Linked DNA regions of Homo sapiens: regions 2, 3, 4, 5 and 6 are each linked to region 1. The links are contacts of gene promoters, found by promoter capture Hi-C in blood cells and fetal thymus (Javierre and others, 2016). All regions are on one chromosome and are shown on one strand. Each heading gives the region's core, a stretch centred on a gene start or on the middle of the fragment in contact. The rest is flanking DNA. Distances are from core to core; before and after follow the strand shown. Region 1 holds the start of VPS13D (vacuolar protein sorting 13 homolog D). Region 2 has its middle 29 kb from the start of AADACL4. Region 3 has its middle 5.4 kb from the start of AADACL4. Region 4 overlaps CLCN6 (chloride voltage-gated channel 6). Region 5 holds the start of KIAA2013. Region 6 overlaps VPS13D (vacuolar protein sorting 13 homolog D).

The links. The method cuts DNA at HindIII sites, captures the fragments that hold promoters and counts their contacts. A CHiCAGO score of 5 or more calls a contact.
Region 2: a fragment that was not itself captured here is called in contact with the fragment with the promoter of VPS13D in region 1 in 1 of 17 cell types (endothelial precursors); the score reaches 5.1 in endothelial precursors.
Region 3: a contact is called between a fragment that was not itself captured here and the fragment with the promoter of VPS13D in region 1, in 12 of 17 cell types (non-activated CD4 T cells, endothelial precursors, erythroblasts and 9 more). The highest score is 7.6, in non-activated CD4 T cells.
Region 4: a contact is called between a fragment that was not itself captured here and the fragment with the promoter of VPS13D in region 1, in 2 of 17 cell types (neutrophils and activated CD4 T cells). The highest score is 6.5, in neutrophils.
Region 5: the fragment with the promoter of KIAA2013 here is called in contact with the fragment with the promoter of VPS13D in region 1 in 1 of 17 cell types (neutrophils); the score reaches 5.5 in neutrophils.
Region 6: a contact is called between a fragment that was not itself captured here and the fragment with the promoter of VPS13D in region 1, in 1 of 17 cell types (M1 macrophages). The highest score is 5.7, in M1 macrophages.

What each region holds. Positions count from the first base shown.
Region 1 is chr1:12,228,290-12,231,578 of GRCh38, forward strand. It overlaps VPS13D (vacuolar protein sorting 13 homolog D), which reads left to right and starts at 1,741. Exons shown (of 70, transcript NM_015378.4): 1 at 1,741-1,831. RefSeq lists an enhancer at 1,490-2,420 and silencers at 1,566-2,095, 1,632-1,800. The HindIII fragment of the contact is 6,412 bases long and covers 1-3,289 here.
Region 2 is chr1:12,671,441-12,674,729 of GRCh38, forward strand. No RefSeq gene overlaps it. Among named protein-coding and RNA genes, the nearest start is that of AADACL4, 29 kb to the left of the region's middle. The HindIII fragment of the contact is 9,462 bases long and covers 1-3,289 here.
Region 3 is chr1:12,637,052-12,640,340 of GRCh38, forward strand. No RefSeq gene overlaps it. Among named protein-coding and RNA genes, the nearest start is that of AADACL4, 5.4 kb to the right of the region's middle. The HindIII fragment of the contact is 4,411 bases long and covers 1-3,289 here.
Region 4 is chr1:11,820,086-11,823,374 of GRCh38, forward strand. It overlaps CLCN6 (chloride voltage-gated channel 6), which reads left to right. Exons shown (of 23, transcript NM_001286.5): 6 at 2,610-2,716. Among named protein-coding and RNA genes, the nearest start is that of CLCN6, 16 kb to the left of the region's middle. The HindIII fragment of the contact is 5,075 bases long and covers 1-3,289 here.
Region 5 is chr1:11,924,499-11,927,787 of GRCh38, forward strand. It overlaps KIAA2013, which reads right to left and starts at 1,929. Exons shown (of 3, transcript NM_138346.3): 1 at 707-1,929. The coding sequence starts at 1,739. RefSeq lists enhancers at 873-1,535, 1,536-2,199, 1,854-2,148 and a silencer at 1,784-1,853. The HindIII fragment of the contact is 9,969 bases long and covers 1-3,289 here.
Region 6 is chr1:12,487,235-12,490,523 of GRCh38, forward strand. All of the region lies in intron 67 of VPS13D (vacuolar protein sorting 13 homolog D), which reads left to right. Among named protein-coding and RNA genes, the nearest start is that of SNORA59A, 18 kb to the right of the region's middle. The HindIII fragment of the contact is 153 bases long and covers 1,534-1,686 here.

The DNA.
Region 1 (3,289 bases), core at 491-2,990:
CCTCTGAAGGACTGCCTTCCTTCCTCCTTCTGTCTGTGGAGTTCCAGGTTTTACTCCCAAACCTCAGCCCCAGAGGAGACCCAGCATCCAGATTCTGAGAGGTTGATCCCACCATACAGGAACCCCAGTCTTGCTCAGGAGTGAGTCAGCCCAACATGCACCCTCATTAGCTTAGCATCATGAGGGTTGGTAATTATTATGGTAAATACATGATTGTAACCTTGCCGTTCTGCTTCCTGCATCTTCTAATTTATATGAGCCTGAGGTCTCCCTCTTGCCCTTCTTGTGATAATGCAAGGAGGAAGTGTTCAGCTGTTCATTCATACACACTCATTGAGTCTTTTCTGTGCTAGGCAATGTCTAGGTGTTGAAGAAACACTGTGAAAGGGATAAAATCTCTGTTTTCAAGGTACTGGGGAAAGAACAACATATGTATAAACAAACAAGATAATCTCAGGGAGTATTAGGTTCCATGAATAAAATACAACAGGGTAATGGATAATGGAACTTTATTTTTATTTTCATTTTTGAGAGGGAGTCTCACTCTGTCTGGAGTGCAGAGGGGTGATCTCGGCTGACTGCAACCTCCGCCTCCCGGGTTCAAGTGATTCTCCTGCCTCAGCTTCCCCAGTAGCTGGGACTACAGGTGTGCACTACCACGCCCGGCTAATTTTTGTAGTTTTAGTAGAGATGGGGTTTCACTATGTTGGCCAGGCTGGTCTCAAACTCCTGACTTCAGTGATCCGCCCGCCTCAGCCTCCTGAAGTGCTGGGATTACAGGCATGAGCCACTGTGCCCAGCTCATAATGGAACCGTAGATAGGCACAAGTCCTCTCTGAGTGGAATATTTGAAGCCAGAGGGAGTCAGCTATACGAATATCCAGAGCTATTCTGTAGCTCTGGATTGGCCACAAGAGGGTATTGAGCACTGGAATTCTGGCTAGTTTGTACTGAGATGCGCAGTAAATGTAAAATATACCCGAATTTCAAAAACTTACTATAAAAAAGTTAACATATTGTATTAGTAATTTTTTCTTTTGGCGACATGTTGAGATGATCATATTTTGAACATATTGGATTAAATATATTAAAATGAAGTTCATTTTCTTCTTTTTCGTTTAAAAAAAATGTACTAGCTAGTAAATGTGGATTGCCTATGTGGCTGGCATTGTGTTTCTATTGGTCTGAGGAGAAGGGTCCTAGGTAGAGACAACGGCAAAGGTACAGTTCCTGGGGCAGAAACTGAAGGATGCTGAGGCAGAGTCGGCCGGGGAAAAAGTGGCTGAAATGGGAAGGGACCAGATCCAGTGGGACCTTGGTGGCAGCTCTGTAAGGAGGTGGGTTTTAACTGAAGTACGGTGGGGACGCCGTTTTAAGCAGGGAAGGGCAGGGTCTGAATTAACAGGCCCCTGTGGCTGCGAAGTGGGGAACGGACTGTGGGTGAGTGGGCCAGACGGACGGCCAATCGCACCTTTCGCTTGGATGGAAGGCAGGGTGGTTGTAGGTGGGAAGAATCCTGGGTTCCCATGCTGTCTGAACCAGAGTCATTTGTGGCCCTGCCCTCCCCTGGGACTCAATTTCCCCACCTATAAAATAAGCCCCAGTGTCCGCGAACCCTGGAGGGGCCCGCACCACTGCAGGAGCGGCCGCCGGCGCCAGGGGGCGCCTCCTCGATAACTCGGCGCTCGGCTGGCCAGGCACCGGCGCGTCGGCCGCTCGATTGGTCGGGTCGGGGCCGGCCTGAGCGCCGCGGGCCTGCGCCATTGAGGAGCGGCGGGGAGGAAACGCCGCGCAGCGCCGGGCTGGGGCGGGCGGCCCGGGACACCGACAGGTAGGGGCCGAGCGGCTCCGTGCCGGGCGGGGCCAGGGTCGGGAACTGCAGGGCCGGCGCGGACCCGCGGGCCGCCGCTAGGGCTCCGCCTGGACATGGGGGCCCGGGCCCACCCTGGGGAGAGCGATGCTAGGAGCCTGGGGGCCCCGTCGTCCGGCCTCGGTCTGAGCCCCTCGGGGTAACCCTGGGCGTCTGCTCCCCCCGGGCCCCAAGCCCGCCACCTCCGGGGACCCCTGCGTCCGAGTCCCCGCGAGCTCCCCAAGCACAGGCTCGGGGCTGGCTGAACCTCTGGGAACCCCGACGTCCGTGTCCTGGGGAGCCCGAGCCCCCGCTGGACCCCGGCACACTTTCCGGGGTCCCAGCAGCCTGGCGCCCTGGAATTGGGGGGTGTCAGTCCGCGCCTGTCCGCCTGAGCCTTGGTCTCAATGCAGGACCCCAGTGTGCGAGCCCCCCACATTACGCCGAAGAGTGGGGTGTCAGTTCTCTAGAATGCCTTAGCCACCTCCCTTAATCAGCCACCCGAGGTCACACTCTCGCGTGGAGACATCAGGCCTAAAACCTCTCTTTACCTTTTGCCCCCCAGGGTCACGCCCTGGCCCAGCCACTCCTCCTAGGTGTGGGATGCCAGACATCAGGCCTAAAACCTCTCTTTACCTTTTACCCCCCAGGGTCACGCCCTGGCCCAGCCACTCCTCCTAGGTATGGGATCCCGGCGCCGTTCCCTCCAGGTTTTACTTGGGTGGTGGGGTCTCTGTCCCCTGGAGGGGGCTGAGGGTTCCGAGAGCTGGGGGCGGGAGGGTTGTGGGAGCGTCGCCTTCCGGGCAGTGCCGTTCCTGTGGGGCCACCGGTCGCACAGCCGTCCCCGCCCCGGTTTTGGAGCTCCCTGGCGCCGGCAGCGTTCAGCCCTGGCCGCCTCGGGGAGGGACGCCCAGGTCCGGTTGCCAGTCCTTCCTATTCCCGGTCTGGCCGCTCCTCAGGGGAGGGGCCTGGCTCAAGGTCATGCCCGGCTGTCTGCCCGCCCGTGGGCTCAGCACTGATCCCTACTGTCACCCGCCCCACTGGGTAGGGGAGCCCAGGTGGGGGTTAGTGCCAGTGCCAGGCAGCTGCCTAGAAGTCCTGATGGACCGGAGTGTAAACACTTTGGGACTCTGGCCAGTCTGGCGGCCCTTGCTGACACTGAATTCCTTCAGGGAATCCTTGAAGTGGCCTCAAGCACGGTCTAGATGCTTAGCAGAGCAAATAATGGGTGCTTTCTGGTTTGGGCCTCAATGTTACTGACCAGGTTGCCTCACAATGCTAATCACTCATGCTTTTAAAATCTGTGCTTTGCATTCTTTTCCGTTTAGGGCAAGTAGGGTAGGGCCTGAACTTGTTTACAAACTGACAGTTGTTTCCCTTGATTTGGAGATAATTGGTAATTGGCACTCAGAGTTGGCATTTAGGGCCGAAATTAGTGGC
Region 2 (3,289 bases), core at 478-2,977, 440 kb after region 1:
TGAAGATTGCAGGGAGACCATTCTCCCTGGGTTTCTCACATTTCTGTGCCTGTTGTGAACAGAAGCACTGATGGCCTTTGATCCAGATTGTCTTTTTGAGGATGTTTGTAGAGTAATCAATCTTGGAAGATATAGTGTTTTCTCTTGCACCAGGGGGCAAGTTTATTTACTGTCTAGTATCATAAAGATACTAGATCTTTTGGATATTACATATTTGTCAGGTGGGTAGGTTGCAAAAGTTTTCTCCCATTCTGTAGGTTGCTTGTTCACTCTGATGCTAGTTTCTTTTGCTGTGCAGAAGCTCTTTAGTTTAATTAGATCCCATTTGTTCATTTTGGCTTTGCTGCAGTTGTTTTTGGTGTTTTCATCATGAAGGTTTTGCTTATGCCTATGTCCCGAATGGTATTGCCTAGGCTTTCTTCCAGGGTTTTTATGGTTTTGGGTTTTACATTTAAGTCTTTAATCCATCTTGAGTTAATTTTTGTATAAGGTGTAAGGAAGGGGTCCAGTTTCAGTTTTCTGCATATGGCTAGCCAGCTTTCCCAGCACCATTTATTAAATAGGGAATCCTTTCCCCTGTTGCTTGTTTTTGTCAGGTTTGTCAAAGATCAGATGGATGTAGATGTGTGGTGTTATTTCTGAGGTCTGTGTTCTCTTCCACTGGTTTATGTGTCTGTTTTGGTATCAGTACCATGTTGTTTTGGTTACCGTAGCCTTGTGGTATAGTTTGAAGTCAGGTAGCATGATACTTCCAACTTTGTTATTTTTGCTTAGGATTGCCTTGACTATATGGGCTCTTTTTTGGTTCCATAGGAAATTTAAGTAGTTTTTTCTAATCCTGTGAAGAATGTCAATAGTAGTTTGATGGGAATAGCATTGAATCTATAAATTACTTTGGGCAGTATGGCCATTTTCATGACTTTGATTCTTCCTATCCATGAGGATGGGCAAAGGATATGAACAGACACTTCTCAAAAGAAGACATTTATGCAGCCAATGAACATATGAAAAAAACTCAACATCACTGATAATTAGAGAAATGCAAGTGAAAATCACAACGAGATACCATCTTATGCCAGACAGAATGGAAATTATTAAAAAGTCAAGAAACAATTGATGCTGGTGAGGCTGTGGAGAAATAGGAACACTTTTACATTGTTGGTGGGAATGTAAATTAGTTCAACCATTGTGGAAGACAATGTGGGGATTCCTCAAGAATCTAGAACCAGAAATACCATTTGACCCAGCAATCTCATTATTGAGTATATACCCAAAGGAATATAAATCATTCTACTATAAAGGCACATGCACACTTAATGCACACTTATGTTTATTGTGGCACTAATCACAATAGCAAAGACACAGAACCAATCCAAATGCCTATCAGTGAGAGACTGGACAAAGAAAATGTGGTACATATCACCATGGAATACTTTGCAGCCATAAAAAAGAATGAGTTCATGTCCTTTGTAGGGACATGGATGAAGCTGGAAGCCATCATTCTCAGCAAACTAACAGAGGACAGGAAAGCAAACACCGTATGTTTTTACTCGTAAGTGGGAGTTGAACAATGAGAACACATGAACACAGGGAGGGGAACAACACACATCAGCGCCTGTCAGGGGGTGGGGGGCAAGGGGAGGGAGAGCATTAGGAAAAACACCAAATGCACGTGGGGCTTAAAACTTAGATGACGGGTTGCTAGGTGCAGCAAACCACCATGGCACCTGTATACCTAACTAACAAACCTGCACATTCTGCACATGTATCCCAGAATTTAAAGTTACAAAAAAAAAAAAGATAATAGGGAAAAGGTTAGGCAGGTTTTCTTGCTTATAGAAGATTTGGAGTCCCTGAAGGTCAGAGTTCCTCACCTGTGATGCACCCCTACCATGCACACCATCCACCTGGGCTTCTCTGTGTCATTCCCATGGGATCTGGGAGGCAAGGAGAACCAACGCTAATGTGAAGTTCATTCTGTTTGCCATGCTATACATAATAATAATCTTTGAATCTGAGCCTGACATCTCATGTTTTCTGGCAGTATCCATGAAACTGTGGATAGTTTATTGTTTGCAAGTAGACTTATTAGTCTTATTATTTTGCAAGTAGGATAAAATATTAGTTTGCAAGTAGGATAAAAATCTGAGACCTATTCCCCAGTTCTTGACATACCCTTGACATAGTTCTATTTTGTCACCTGAAACAATGTTTGCTTGTTTGTTTTTTTTTGAGACAGAGTCTCACCCTGTTGCCCAGGCTGGAGTGCAGTGGCCCGATCTTGGCTCACTGCAAGCTCCACCTCCTGGGTTCATGCCATTCTCCTGCCTCAGCCTCCCCAGTAGCTGGAACTACAGACGCCCGCCACCATGCCTGGCTAATTTTTTTTTTTGTATTTTTAGTAGAGACGAGGTTTCACCGTGTTAGCCAGGATGGTCTCGATCTCCTGACCTTGTGATCCACCTGCCTTGGCCTCCCAAAGTGCTGGGATTACAGGCCTGAGCCACCGCCCCTGGCCAACAATGTTAAGGTTTGTCAGTAGAAGGTGCTGGAGAAATATTGGAAAAGGGCGGGCTTCTCGTCTTAGTTCTGGTGTACTCTTCTTGCCAGATGTCTGCAGTTTGTGTTTTCTCTACCACGGTTTCCTGCAGCATTCAGTTTTGCCAACATGTGGGGCCCACTGAGAAAGGCTTCTCTGATGTCTAGCTCCTACAGTACCCAGCGGCCATCACACTCAGTGACCAGCAGCCTCCTTTGGTAACATTCAGATGGTTTTGCAGCAGAGTGTCACCAACTAGACACTCTCCCATGAATGGCTTTTTGGCACCTTTTCTAGTTACCTATGACCATGTCCTCTAAAATAAGGTCAGATCTTGACCTAGGAGCAGTGGCTGTTCTTTATATCTGTGACTCCCTGTTTCTGTCTCCTGGGTTGAACCTAACACAGAATCTAAAGTACTTGCTACTTTCTGCTCATATGATCCAGTCAGCACAATGTCACTGATGTATCAGATCAGTGTGATGTTTACAGGAATATCATGATCCTCATCTCTGAAGAGTATATTATGGCAGAAAACAGAATTGACATAGCCCTGAGGTGAGAATGTAAAGGTATACTGTTAGCCCTGCTAGATAAAGGCAGGTGGCTTGTGGTATTCCTTACAAAATTGGTATGGAACAAAAGGCATCTGCCAGGTCAGTAGCTGCTTACCAAGTGCCAGGAGCTGTGTTTACTTGCTCCCATATGATGCTACAGCTGGAAAAACAGCTGCAATTGAATTATAAAATT
Region 3 (3,289 bases), core at 396-2,895, 410 kb after region 1:
TTTTTTTGCTGTAAGTGACAAAAGGGTAATTATGCGGTGAGCCGGCTGTGTGCTGGGTACAGGGAGGTTGATCTGCCACCCAGAACACCTTGTTTTTCCTCTCTGGACTCTGTTTTGGAACATTGGTTCAACCCCCCACCCCCCTCAGTTGTACTTTCTGTGTCTCCAGTTTTTAATTCCAGAAAGGCACAGCCTCCATAAGTTCAAGTCTGTCTGTCCATCCATCCATCTGTCAGACCTGATAAAAGAAAAACTTCAGCCAAATTAAATTTAAAGGAGTTTAATTGAGAAATGAATGATTCATGAATAAGGCAGCCCCCAGAATCATGGGAGATTCACAGAGACTCCAGTGGAGCCACGTGGTGGAAGAAGATTTCTTTTTTTTTTTTTTTTGAGATGGAGACTCCCTGTGACACCCAGACTGGAGTGCAATGGTGCCATCACTGTTCACTGCAATCTCCACCTCCCAGGTTCAAATGATTCTCCTGCCTCAGCCTCCCGAGTTGCTGAGACTACAGGTGCGTGCCACCACATCCAGCTAATTTTTGTATTTTTAGAAGAGACAAGGTTTCACCATATTGGCCAGGCTGGTCTCAAACTCCTGACCTCAAGTGATAAAAAAGCTCATCAACTAATTTTTTTTTTTTTTTTTTTTGAGATGGGGTCTCACTCTGTTGCCTAGGCTGGTCTCGAACTCCTAGGCTCAAACAATCCTGCCTCGGCCTCCCAAAGTGCCAGGATTACAGGCATGAGCCACCAATCTGGCCACGTGGTAGAAGATTTACAGACAAAAAAAAGGGAAGAGAGGTACAGAAATTGGCAGCGAGGTACCGAAACAGGATGGCCTTTGCCTTATTTGAACACAGTTTGAACACTTGGCAGGCTCTGAGTGGTTGAAGTTTGGCCGCTGGGATTGGCCAAGACTCAGTTATTGTTACAAGCGCATACTTCTATGTTAGGTTTTCAATCTTGTCTAACTATTAAGCTGGTTACAGTATGTCTACGGGGACTCAAATATGGAAGTATGGAGTCCTTCTCAGGCCATATTTAGTTTGCTTTAACAGACCTGAGAGGAGACAGGGCAGTGCTTGGGCTCTGGGCTGAGCCCTTCTACCTCTGGCTCTATGAATGTGGGCGAGTGAGTCTGGCATTCTGGGGCTTGGTATCCTCATCTGTGAAGTAGGGATCACGCCAGTACCTTCCTCTAGGGTGTTGCAGACATTGAACAAATTCCTACAGGTAAGGCACTTCACAGCTGTGCCTGGGCCATTGCAGACACTTAACCAATGTTGGACTTAGTTATTTTTGTTGCCGTTATTGTTACATTGGAATATGGGAACCTGTATGAAATTAACACACAGCCTCACACACTTGCTAGAAACCTCTTTCCCTTTGGGAATGATCTTGGGAAAGTGAGGCAATCTTGTAGAGTGTGAGTTTCATCTCCATGTGCTTACCTCAGAGGGCTGTTGGTAGGACACTGCTTGGCACACAAGGAGTCCTCAGTAAATGGCAACTATTTATTAGTTGAATTACTGCCTCGAGTACCTAGAGTGCTAGCCACAAGCAACCCCACCAGATGTGCCAAATAGCTCGTGCATCCTTACCTCTTCTGGGCTTTTGGAAATATCAGGATAATACCACATACCCCCATTGCTGTCCTCACAGATCCCTGAGGTCTAAAATCCCTCATCCAAGCCACATGGAGTGGAGGTCATGAGAAGGGAAGGGTTTGGGAGATTAGAACCTAAAGCTCATTAGAATTTTCCTTCTTTTCCTTTCTTTCTTTCTTTCTTTCTTTCTTTCTTTCTTTCTTTCTTTCTTTCTTTCTTTCTTTCTTCTTTCTTTCTTTCTTTCTTCTCTCTCTTTCTTTCTCTCTTTCTTCTTTCTCTTTTTCTTTCTTCTTTCTCCCTTCCTTCCTTCCTTCCTTCTCTCTGTCTTTCTTTTCTTTTCTTTTTTTTTTTTTTGAGACAGGATCTCTCTCTGTCACCCCAGGCTGTCATGCAGTGGTGTGATCACAGCTCACTGCAGCCTCAACCTCCCGGGCTCAAGTGATCCTTGCACCTCAGCCTCCCGAGTAGCTGGAACTACAGGCGTGTGCCACCATGCCCCACTGATTTTAAACATTTTTTTTTCTTGGAAATGGGGTCTCACTCTATTGCCCAGGCTGGTCTCAAACTTCTGGGTTCAAGTGATCCTCCTTCCTTGGCCTCCCAAAGTGCTGGGATTACAGGCATGAGTGCTTGGCCTACTGAATAATATTTTGTTGCATAGATGTGATAGTTAGTGCTAGCTATCAACTCGACTGGGTTAAGGAATACCTAGAAACCTGGTCAAGCATCATTTTTGGGTGTCTCTATGAGGGGGTTTCCATTGATTAGCATGTGAATCTGAGTGAACTAGGTGGGTAAGATCTGCCCTCAAGGTGGGCGGCCACCATCTAATCTGCTGGGGGTCCAGAGAGAATCAAAACAAAGAAAAGCCTAATGTGTTCATGTATCTGCTGGAGCTTGAATGTACTCTTCCTCTCTTATACTTGGACAGCAACTCCAGGCTCTCTGGCTTTTTAACTCTAGGACTTGCACCAGTGGTACCCCGTGCCCCCTGAGTTCTCAGGCATTTGGCCTTGGATAGAGAATTACACCATCAGCTTCCCTGGTTCTGAGGCCTTTGGACTTGGACTGATCCACGCTACCAGCATCCCAGGGTTTCCAGCTTGCAGTTGACCTGTTGTGGGACTTCTCAGCCTCCATAACTGTGTAAGCCAATTCCCCTAATAAATCCCCGCTTATAGCTCTCTCTCTATGTCCTATTGGTTTGATCTTTCTGGAGAACCCTGATACAATATATATACCACATTGTTTACCTGTTCACCGGTTGATGGACATTTGGATTGTCTCCACTTTTGGGGTATTATAAATAATGTTGCTCTGACCATTTATAGATAGGGTTTTGTGTAGACACATGTTTTCAATTCTCTTGTGTATATACCTAAAGTGGACTTGCTAGGTCATATGATAATTCTATGTTCAATAAATTTTGAGGAACTGCTAAAATCTTTCCAAAGTGGCTGCAGCATTTTACATTTTCACAAGGAATGTGAGTTCCAGTTTCTCCACATCCTTGACAATACTTGTTATTATCTGTCTTTTTTATTATAGCCATCGAGAAGTGTTCCCTTCTCTTCTGTTTTTAAGAAGAGTTTGTGAAGAATTGGAATGAATTCTTCTTTAAGTGTTTGGAATAATTTACCAGTGATGCCATCTCTTTGCATTGATCATAGTTGGAG
Region 4 (3,289 bases), core at 213-2,712, 410 kb before region 1:
ACATACATGGAACTTTGGTGAATGACAGTTAATATTACAAATCAGTGAGGGAGTGATGAATGATTTAATAAAAGACGCTGTGTTATTTAATAAATAAAAGATACACATCTCTGTAGTCCCAGCTACTTAGGAGGTGAGCCCAGGAGTTTGAGGCTGTAATGCACCATGACTGTGCCTGGGCAGCATAGCAAGACCCTGTCTTAAAAAAAATGATGCTGGGACATGGGTGATCCATATGGAAAAATAGTTATATTCCTATTTCATACTATAAATAAGATAAATTCCAGATGAAGATGTAAATATGCAGAACAAAACTTCGGGAGACTATATGTTGTCAAGAGTGGGGAATAATTTCTTAAAACTCCAGAAGGCACAGACTATAAGAAAAAACATCAATGGGGCCGGACACAGTGGCTCACGCCTGTAATCCCAGCATTTTGGGAGGCAGAGGCAGGCGGATCACAAGGTCAGGAGATTGAGACCATCCTGGCTAACACGGTGAAACCCCGTCTCTACTAAAAATACAAAAAAATTAGCTGGGCGTGGCGGTGTGCGCCTGTAGTCCCAGATGCTGGGGAGGCTGAGGCAGGAGAATGGCATGAACCTGGGAGGCGGAGCTTGCAGTAAGCCAAGATCACGCCACTGCACTCCAGCCTGGGTGACAGAGCAAGACTCCGTCTCAAAAACAAACAAACAAAAACATCAATGGCTGGGTGCAGTGGCTCATGCCTGTAATCTCAGGACTTTGGGAGGCCGAGGCAGGCAGATCACCTGAGGTCAGGAGTTCAAGGCCAGCCTGGCTAACATGACAAAACCCCATCTCTACTAAAAGTACAAAAAATTAGCTGGGCATGGTGGCGGGTGCCTGTAATCCCAGCTACTTGGAAGGCTGAGGTGGGAGAATCGCTTGAACCCGGGAGACAGAGGCTGCAGTGAGCCGAGATCGCGCCATTGCACTCCAGCCTGGGCAATGAGAGCAAAACTGTCTCAAAAAACAACAACAAAAAAAAAAAACAAACAAAATCAATAAATTTGACCACATCAAAGTACATATTGTATTTATAAAGACAAAAACTCCAAATAACAACAATAAAACACCATAAATAAAGTGAAAACAAGTCCACAGCCTGAGAGAGGTTATTTACTATGCATTTAAGAGGCAGATAATTAGTATCCAGAATACAGGAAGAGGCTGGGCGCGGTGGCTGACGCCTGTAATCCCAGCACTTTGGGAGGCCGAGGCAGGCGGATCACTTGAGGTCAGGAGTTCAAGACCAGCCTGGCCAACATGGTGAAACCCTGTCTCTACTAAAAATACAAATTGAGCTGAGTGTGGTGGTGTGCACCTTTAGTCCAGATACTTGGGAGGCAGAGGCAGGAGAATCACTTGAACCCAGGAGGCGGAGGTTGCAGTGAGCCGAGATTGCAACACTGTACTCCAGCCTGGGTGACAGAATGAGACTCTGATTCAGAACAAATAATACAGGAAGAACTCCTGCAACTCAATCAGAAAAACAACAGATGGTCCAATGGAAGGAAAACGAGCAAAGGATGTGAACTGGAATTCTCAAAAGAGAAAAACTGGCCAGTAAACCTCTAGAAAAAGGAAGGTGCACATTCCTGTGACTCATACATTCCTCTTAGAAATTTGAACCGTAGACATGTACAAAGGTGGTAATTATAGCTTTATGATAGCAAAAAGCTGGAGTCACCAAATGGGAGAATGGAAAAATTATGGTACATTCATATGGTATCATTTTAGACATCATGTCATTTCTGTAGATTGTAAAATAAAAATTTTAGACAAGTGAAAGTGAACGAACCACAGAGTTGTGTGTATCAACATGGCTAATTCTCAAAGACTTAATGTTGAGAAAAAAAGAGCAAGTTACAGAATATACAAGTGCCGTGTACAACAGTGTGGACACTTTTGAAATACACACAATAATTTCAGGTTAGTGGTTTCTCCCAGGGGAGAGAGGAAGGAAAACTGTTTTTTTTTTTGTTTTGTTTTGTTTCTTAAAATGGTACTGAATGTTTTCTTTTTTAAAAATACCTGGAGCATATATGGCATGTTGTTGAGATTTGTTAAAGCTACAGTTGTGAGGGTATGGGTATTCGTTACTTTTTGTAATGTTTGAAGTATTTCCTAATGTCAAAGGCATCTCAAACAATTTTTTCTTTTTTTTAAGAGATGAGGCCTCACACTGTTGCCTAGGCTGGAATGCAGTGGTGCAATGACAGCTCACTGCAGCCTCAGCCTCCCAGGCTCAAGCGATCCTCCCACCTCAGCTTCTTGAGTAGCTGGGACCATAGGCATATACCTTTTGTACTTTTTGTAGCGACATGGTCTCACTACATTGCCCAGGCTGGCCTCCAACTCTTAGGCTCAAGTGATCCTCCTGCCTCAGCCTCCCAAAGTGTTGGGATTACAGGCATGAGCCATTGCACCCAGTCATCTCAGGCAGTTTTTAAAAAATTTTTATATATAGAGAAAAAGTGCACTCAGCAGCCAGCATGATCCAAAGGAGAAGCAGCTGCACCCTCTCAAGTGATGACGGGGACACCCCTCGGCTGATGAACAAGTTTCCTTAACCCAGTTTCCGCAGCGGTGGAGGAGTGCAGCCAGAAAGGCTGCCTCGCTCTGTCTCTCCTTGAACTCCTGGGTTTTAACCTCACCTTTGTCTTCCTGGCAAGCCTCCTTGTTCTCATTGAGGTGAGGTGGTTTGGATTCACCTGCTCGCTTAGGAGGTTTTAGAGTCCCGCACTCCTTTTCCCCACCTCCTTCCAGAATGTCAGGAAACTGAGAATGCAGATTCCTGCAGAAAGTGGCCTCTTGTTCACTAAAGGTAAAGGTTTCACCTCTGGTGAGATTAAAGAAGAAAGGCCTCCCAGGTGATGCTCATTCACAGGGAACTTGTACAGATTCTGGGGGGAGGAAAAAAGGGGGAAAGGGCTGAAAACAAAACTGTTGGGTGCCATGCGCACTACCTGGGTGACAGGATCATTCATGTCCCAAACCTCAGCATCATGCAATATACCCTCGTAACATACCTGTACATGCAATCCCTGAACCTAAAATAAAAGTGGAAATTATTTTTCTTTAAAAAGTGCAAGTCTGGCCACTTTGGGAGGCCAAGGCGGGCAGATCACCTAAGATCGGGAGTTTGAGACCATTCTGACCAGTGTAGAGAAACCCTGTCTCTAGTAAAAATACAAAATTAGCCGGTAAAAATACAAAATTAGCCGGGCGTGGTGGCGCATGCCTGTAATCCCAGCTACTCGGGCG
Region 5 (3,289 bases), core at 679-3,178, 300 kb before region 1:
CTGGTTCCCATCTGCACCCCCCCATGCATAGAACAGCCCTGGCAGAAGCATTCAATAGATACTTGCTGAATGAACTCAACTCTCTGAGCAACCAAACACAAAGGTTCAGACAATTGGAACCCTGGAAACCAAAACCCCTCTCTCATCCAGAACAGGATTTTCTTTTCTTTAACAGTCAACGAGAGGAGAGTTTTCATCGGGCGGGAGCATCTCAACCTGCTAAAAGGGATTCTCCAACCTCCCTGTGAACCAGTTGCAGCCACAACTGCCAGGACGCACCTCAGCCTAGCAGGGGTTATGTCAAGAAGCCCACGTCTGTCACCAGGCCGACTGCGGTGCTGAGCAAAGAATCAGGGGATCCACCTGCTGGTTTCACCTCTGCAAACTGACTCTAAAACACTTCACTCTGCTCACATCAGGCCCCATCTACCAAAACAAGTAACAGAAAGAATTGACCTTTACACTCAATTGTCCACTACAGTCTCATAAAAACCTTCTGAGGTAGGCGTTATTGTTATTAAATACAGGCCCAGAGAGATTAGGCGACGAATCCAAAGGTCGCACAGACACTAAGCAGTTGAGCAGATTCAACCACTGGTGAAACGCCAAGCCCAAGTTTCAACCACCCCACCATCACCTTCAGTGTCACCTCTGCAGACTTGGGAGGGACATATCTAGGGTGGACCAAGCGCTGGCCAGGACTCACCTGGGCTGAAGAGCTGAGCCCAGAGGAGCTGGTGGTCTTGAAGCAGCTCCGCCGCTGGCATGTCCAAGAGCTCCAGCATTTCCTTCCGTGCCAAGTCCTGCAGCGCCTTGAGCTCCTTGGCTGCTTTGCTTTTGAGCACCTGGGGGTTAATGGGGCCAGAGACGTGCACCACCCACAGCACCGTCTCATCCAGCTGCGTCTTGGGAGCCACTTGGAGGCGGTTCACCAGCTTCTTGGCGGCCACCACCACCAGGTGCACCAACCCAGTGGGCGTAGGCGGGGACCGGCCTGAGTAGAGGAGGAACTGATGGTCTCCGACCTTCTCCAGGGTACTGGTGAAGGCCTTGGGGGCTGGGCCGGCAGTGGGCCCCACAGTCTGCAGCGCGGCCACGCGCTCCGTGGGGTTGTTGAGCTGGATGCGCTGCAGGTAGACGTGGGGTCGGCCCCTGTGCGCCAGAAAGTCCTCTTGCAGCAGCACGCAGTCGCGGCCGGACCCCGCGGCAAGGCCAGAGACGGAGGCGGGCCCGGGGCCGGCGGCCACGGGGCCAGGACCTGGGGACCCCAGCTGCAGGCAACGCACGCGGCGCAGAAGCCCCTCCCGCAGCAGCAGCACCGCCTCTCCAGCTTCAGCCAGCGCGCTCAGCGGGCGCAGCTGCACGAAGGGCACAAAGTCCGGCGCCACGGCGGGCTCCCGCTCCCCGGGAGTCACCCACAGCCGATTGGCAGCCACGTCCAGGGCCAGGAAGCCGTTGGCCACCAGGGCCGGCACTCCAGGACCCAGCGGTACCACCTCACCGCGCTCCCGCAGGCCGCGCCAGGCGCGGGTGGCCGCCTCCAGGCAGGCAGACGGCTCGGCGGCGCCCGGCTCACCGCGGGACCAGGGCAGCAGGTGCAGGCCGCCCGCCGCCCGCCGCGCGCCGGACCCCCCAAACCACAGAAGCAGCAGCAGGAGGCCAAGCAGGCAGAGGAGGCGGCGGGCCCAGCTGCTCGACAGCAGTCCCGGCAGCCCCTTGAGCCGCTGCTGCAGCCACATCGGGCCGCCAGGCGCGGGCAAGGGTGCGAGGGCGGCCGCCGGGCCCGCCGCCCAGCCCACCGGCCCGGCCGCCCGCGCCTCACTGCCCGGCCCGGACCGCGGCGCCCACCCCGGCCCCCGCCGCAACCGCCGCAGCAGCCGCCACCCCTGCTTCCTCCTTCTTCTCGGTGGCCTCCAGCCGTCAAACGACGCCGGCGGTCAAGCGTCGCCGTGTCTTTTACGACAGATGGAAAACGGGAGGGCGGAGGGAGGAGAGAGAGCAGGCCGGAGAGAAGGGGGCGGAGCCACGGCGAGGGCGGGACAAAAGCTGCCGGGGGCGGGACCACTCGTTCCCAGGCCGGAAGAGTGAAGTCCAGTGGAGTTAAGTGCAGGGGTCTGGGGAGGACTGGAAGCATCCAATTCACTCGTGAAAAAAACATCGAGCCAGCCAAACCGAACACGTGTTGGGCCCCTTTGCTACTGATGGATTCAACAGCCCCAAAATTTAAAAACATACACACACACACACACAACAACTTTGTTTCTGTAAAAATGACCATCCTCTCGCCGCGCGCGGTGGCTCACGCCTGTAATCCCAGCACTTTGGGAGGCCAAGGCGGGCGGATCACGAGGTCAGCAGTTTGAGACCAGCCTGACCAACATGGTGAAACCCCATCTCTACTAAAAATACAAAAACTAGCCGGGCGTGGTGGCGCATGCCTGTAATCCCTGCTCCTCAGGAGGCTGAGGTAGGAGAACTGCTTGAACCCGTGAGGCGGAGGTTGCAGGCTTGCAGTGAGCCGAGATCACGCCACTGCACTCCAGCCTGGGCGACAGAGTGAGACTCTGTCTCAAAAAAAAAAAAAAAAAAAAAGACTATCCTCACTGCAAAAAAACACTTGGAACAATACGAAAAAGTGGAGGAAAAAAAAAGGAGAGAGAAGAAGAGGAAGAAAGAAGAAGAAAGGAAAAGGGAGGAGGAGGGGAAGGGGAACCACCAGAGGCCAGGAGTGGTGGCTCACGTCTGTAATTCCAGCACTTTAGGAGGCTGAGATGGGCAAATCACTTGAGGTCAGGAGTTCGAAACCAGCCTGACCAACATGGTGAAAACCTGTCTCTACTAAAAATACAAAAATTAGGCTGGGCACGGTGGCTCACGCCTGTAATCCCAGCATTTTGGGAGGCCGAGGCCGCCAGATCACGAGATCAGGAGATCGAGACCATCCTGGCTAACACGGTGAAACCCTGTCTCTACTAAAAATATAAAAAATTAGCCAGGCGTGGTGGCAGGCGCCTGTAGTCCCAGCTACTCGGGAGGCTGAGGCAGGAGAATGGCGTGAACCCGGGAGGCGGTGCTTGCAGTGAGCCAAGATCGCGCCACTGCACTCCAGCCTGGGTGACAGAGGGAGACTCTGTCTCAAAAAAAAAAAAATAAATAAATAAAAATAAAAAAATAAAAATGCAAAAATTAGCTGGGCGTGGTGGTGGGCGCCTGTAATCCCAGCTACTTGAGAGACTGAGGCACGAGAATCGCTTGAACCAGGGAGGCAGAGGTTGCAGTGAGCCGAGAT
Region 6 (3,289 bases), core at 360-2,859, 260 kb after region 1:
TCACCCTCCTCCATAGTCTCTGTTTGATAGTAGAAGGAGATTTAAAACCTCCAGGCTGAGTGAACAGGCGGTCTTGAAAAAGCAAACAAATCGGGTCAGGCACGGTGGCTCACGCCTGTAATCCCCAGCACTTTGGGAGGCCGAGGTGGGCGGATCACAAGGTCAGGAGTTCGAGACCAGCCTGGCCAATATGGTGAAACCCCGTCTCTACTAAAAATACAAAAAAATTAGCCGGGCATGGTGCCGTATACCTGTAATCCCAGCTACTTGGGAGGCTGAGGCAGGAGAATTGCTTGAACCCAGGAGGTGGAGGTTGCAGTGAGCCGAGATCACACCACTACACTGCAGCCTGGGCGACAGAGCGAGATTCCATCTCAAAAAAAAAAAAAAAGCAAACAAATCACAAAGCAGGTCCCCTCTGGGGGCTGGAGCATCCTCATATCTGCTTGGCTTTGGTCACTGAAAGAGGCCCTGGGGGAGGGGGCTTCAGGGCTTCCCAGGGGAGAGGTGACAGTTAGGACACACGCCTCCCCCACTTCAGTCAAGGCAGCTTCATTGTCAGCGGTTGTACGTACTAAGATTGTGTTACAAACTTCATTTGCAGAAAGTGTTTTACCCCTGAAATTTTTTTTTGAAAGCGCCTGCTGTGAGTTTTATTAATGGCACTTTTCTAAAACTTCATTAATTTCAATTATGAGAATTTGATATCTGGTGTAATTCATTGAGCTGCTAGTTTGATTTGCTCTAGCTCGTTTTAAAAAGCTCTGTCAGGCAACAGGATATGGATGGGAGTGGGTCAGGTGAGTGAAAACGTTTTAAGCACTCCTTTCTTCAGAAAACACCTCTGTACCCACATGGGGTGTGCTCCTCAGGAGTCATTCAGACAGGTCCAGGAGAACTTGTCCCCCAGGGTGCTCCGTCCAGATACAATTTTAAATACTGCACTTTCGCATTTTGGTATTTTCAATGGACTTGACACCCAATAATTCTGAATAAAGGTAGGAAAGAGGGAGATGATTAACTTTTACAAGTACCTACTATGTGCCAGGCACTATGCTACACATTCTTCATATTTTATCTCAACATTATCAACCAAGTAGGTATTAAGTTCTCACCTATTGATGAGGAATCTGAGGCTAAGAACAATCTAGTAACTTCTTCAGTGTCACCCAGCTAATAAGTGACTGGGATTTCAGCCTGTGTTTGTCTTTTTCCAGTCTATGTTTGTTCCTTTATACTACTTTGTTCTTAAATTTCATCTCTTCTCTTAAAAGAGGTCAACTTTGGGAGAAGGTAGATAATATATAAACATTGAAAGAAAAAGATTATATAATCATTTGCCAGAAATAAATCTGAAAATATTGGGCTGGACACGGTGGCCCACACCTGCAATCCCAGCACTTTCAGAGGCTAAGGCAGGAAAATCATTTGAACCAAAAAAAAAAAAAAAAAAAAAAAGTAGTGAAAATGTATGGTTTATTAATGTAATCAGCTTGTTATTATTAGCATGCGTACTTAATAGCCACAAAATAAAGCTTACCAGAGATGGTGTATTTCGGTCCTTGTGAAATATCTTGGGATTGGCATTAGAGGTGACAGGTTAGCAAGGAATTTGATAATGGCTTGAGAGATTCCAATAAGCACTACACTCTCTGACTCAGAATGTTCTACTTAGAACACAAAGAAAGCTTACAATTGTAAAGCGCCTTGTTCTTCCATGATGTTGAAAGTTGCAAACCACTTTATAGGTTGTCTACTATTTTGTAAAAGCAAAGCAAACCCAGAATGCATGCAAAAATTATGGCCTTTAAAGAAATCCAAGCCTTTTAGGCTCCATTCTTACTATAACATGATCTATTTTCTTGGAATTCTTTATAAAGTAACTCTGCCCCTCCCCACCCAGCCATTAACAGGTAGTCTCGCCCCTGAGGCAGTTGACTAAGAAAAAAAATCTGGAGTATTTTTGTCTTAGAGTTTAAATCCCAATAGGTGTATCTGTTGGCATTAGTCCTACCAGCTGTCACAGTTGCAGTGTCATGGGGTCCCCAAAACATGTGTTAAATTATGGGAAGCCTTGACCCCTATAAACAAGTCAGGTGTGAATCCCACTGATGGGAGAAAACCCAGCCCAGGAAATGTCATCCCTGCTGCTGGATGTCAAATTGCTAAAAACTTAACAATATCAATATAATTTCTAATGATTTCTTGAATCAACATCTTTCTTACATTTTCAATGGCAATAGTACAACATGGGATTTTATGTGTGTTATGCATGTATGACTTGAGAACTCTAGGGAGAGGTAAGTAGAATGTTAACAAGAAAGCAAAGGGGAAAGGAAAATACTTCAGTTTGAAGCAGTGAGCCTCCCCAGTAGGAAAACTAAGTACAAGAGGTTGGATGTTACACCCTAGCCCATCTTAGATCCCAGACACCTCAACTAGGGTTCCTCGTGTGCACCCATGGCACTCTAAATAATACACTAATAAAAAGAATAGGTAGCATTTTATCGAGTGCCTATTATGTGCTAGACTCTGTTCTAAGCACTGTACATGTATTGACTTATCTACTCCTCACAACAACCCATCATTACCCCCACTTTATAGATGAGAAAACCATCGCTCCAAGAAGTCACATAATTTGCCTGTGGTTACAGTTCGTAAGTGGTGGAGCTGGGATTCAAACCCACTGGGCAGGCTGGCTCCAGAGCCGATCCTCTCAGCCATTATATTATGCTGCCTACTCTAGTGCTCCCTGTCTCTCCTACTGCTTCCCTGCTGTGTTCTTGTTGCCATTTCTGTTCATCTCCTCCACTGAATTGCTGTAAGCTCCCTGGATACTTAATTCATCCCAGTCTTCTTCAGGACCTAGTGCTGGCCTCTGCATATGATAGTTTGGGAAAGGTTGGTTGAATAGGGGACTGGAGGAGGCAGGCACAAACCATTTGCAGGGCTCTAAGTAGGCTCGTTTTTCTGGCTACCCTAGTTTGGATCCTTAGTCAGTAATTCCATTTAAGAACCAATCTCTACTAGCATAGGGTTTCTTTCTGCCCAACCTATTTTCCATGTGTCCAAAATCCAAATTGTCCCAACCTACGGATTGAATACTATCTTTGAGTGGGTTCTAGAAGGTGTATTTCTCTTTCTCTTGAAACCTTGGGGAAGAATTTCTCATGTAAACAGAGGCAAACTTTAGAAATTTTCATCCTCTAATAGAGTCTTCTCTGATTACAGTTTGCACTGAAAGGAGTAAAATCTGTTTATGGAGAAGAAATGCTTTTCCACTTCGTCT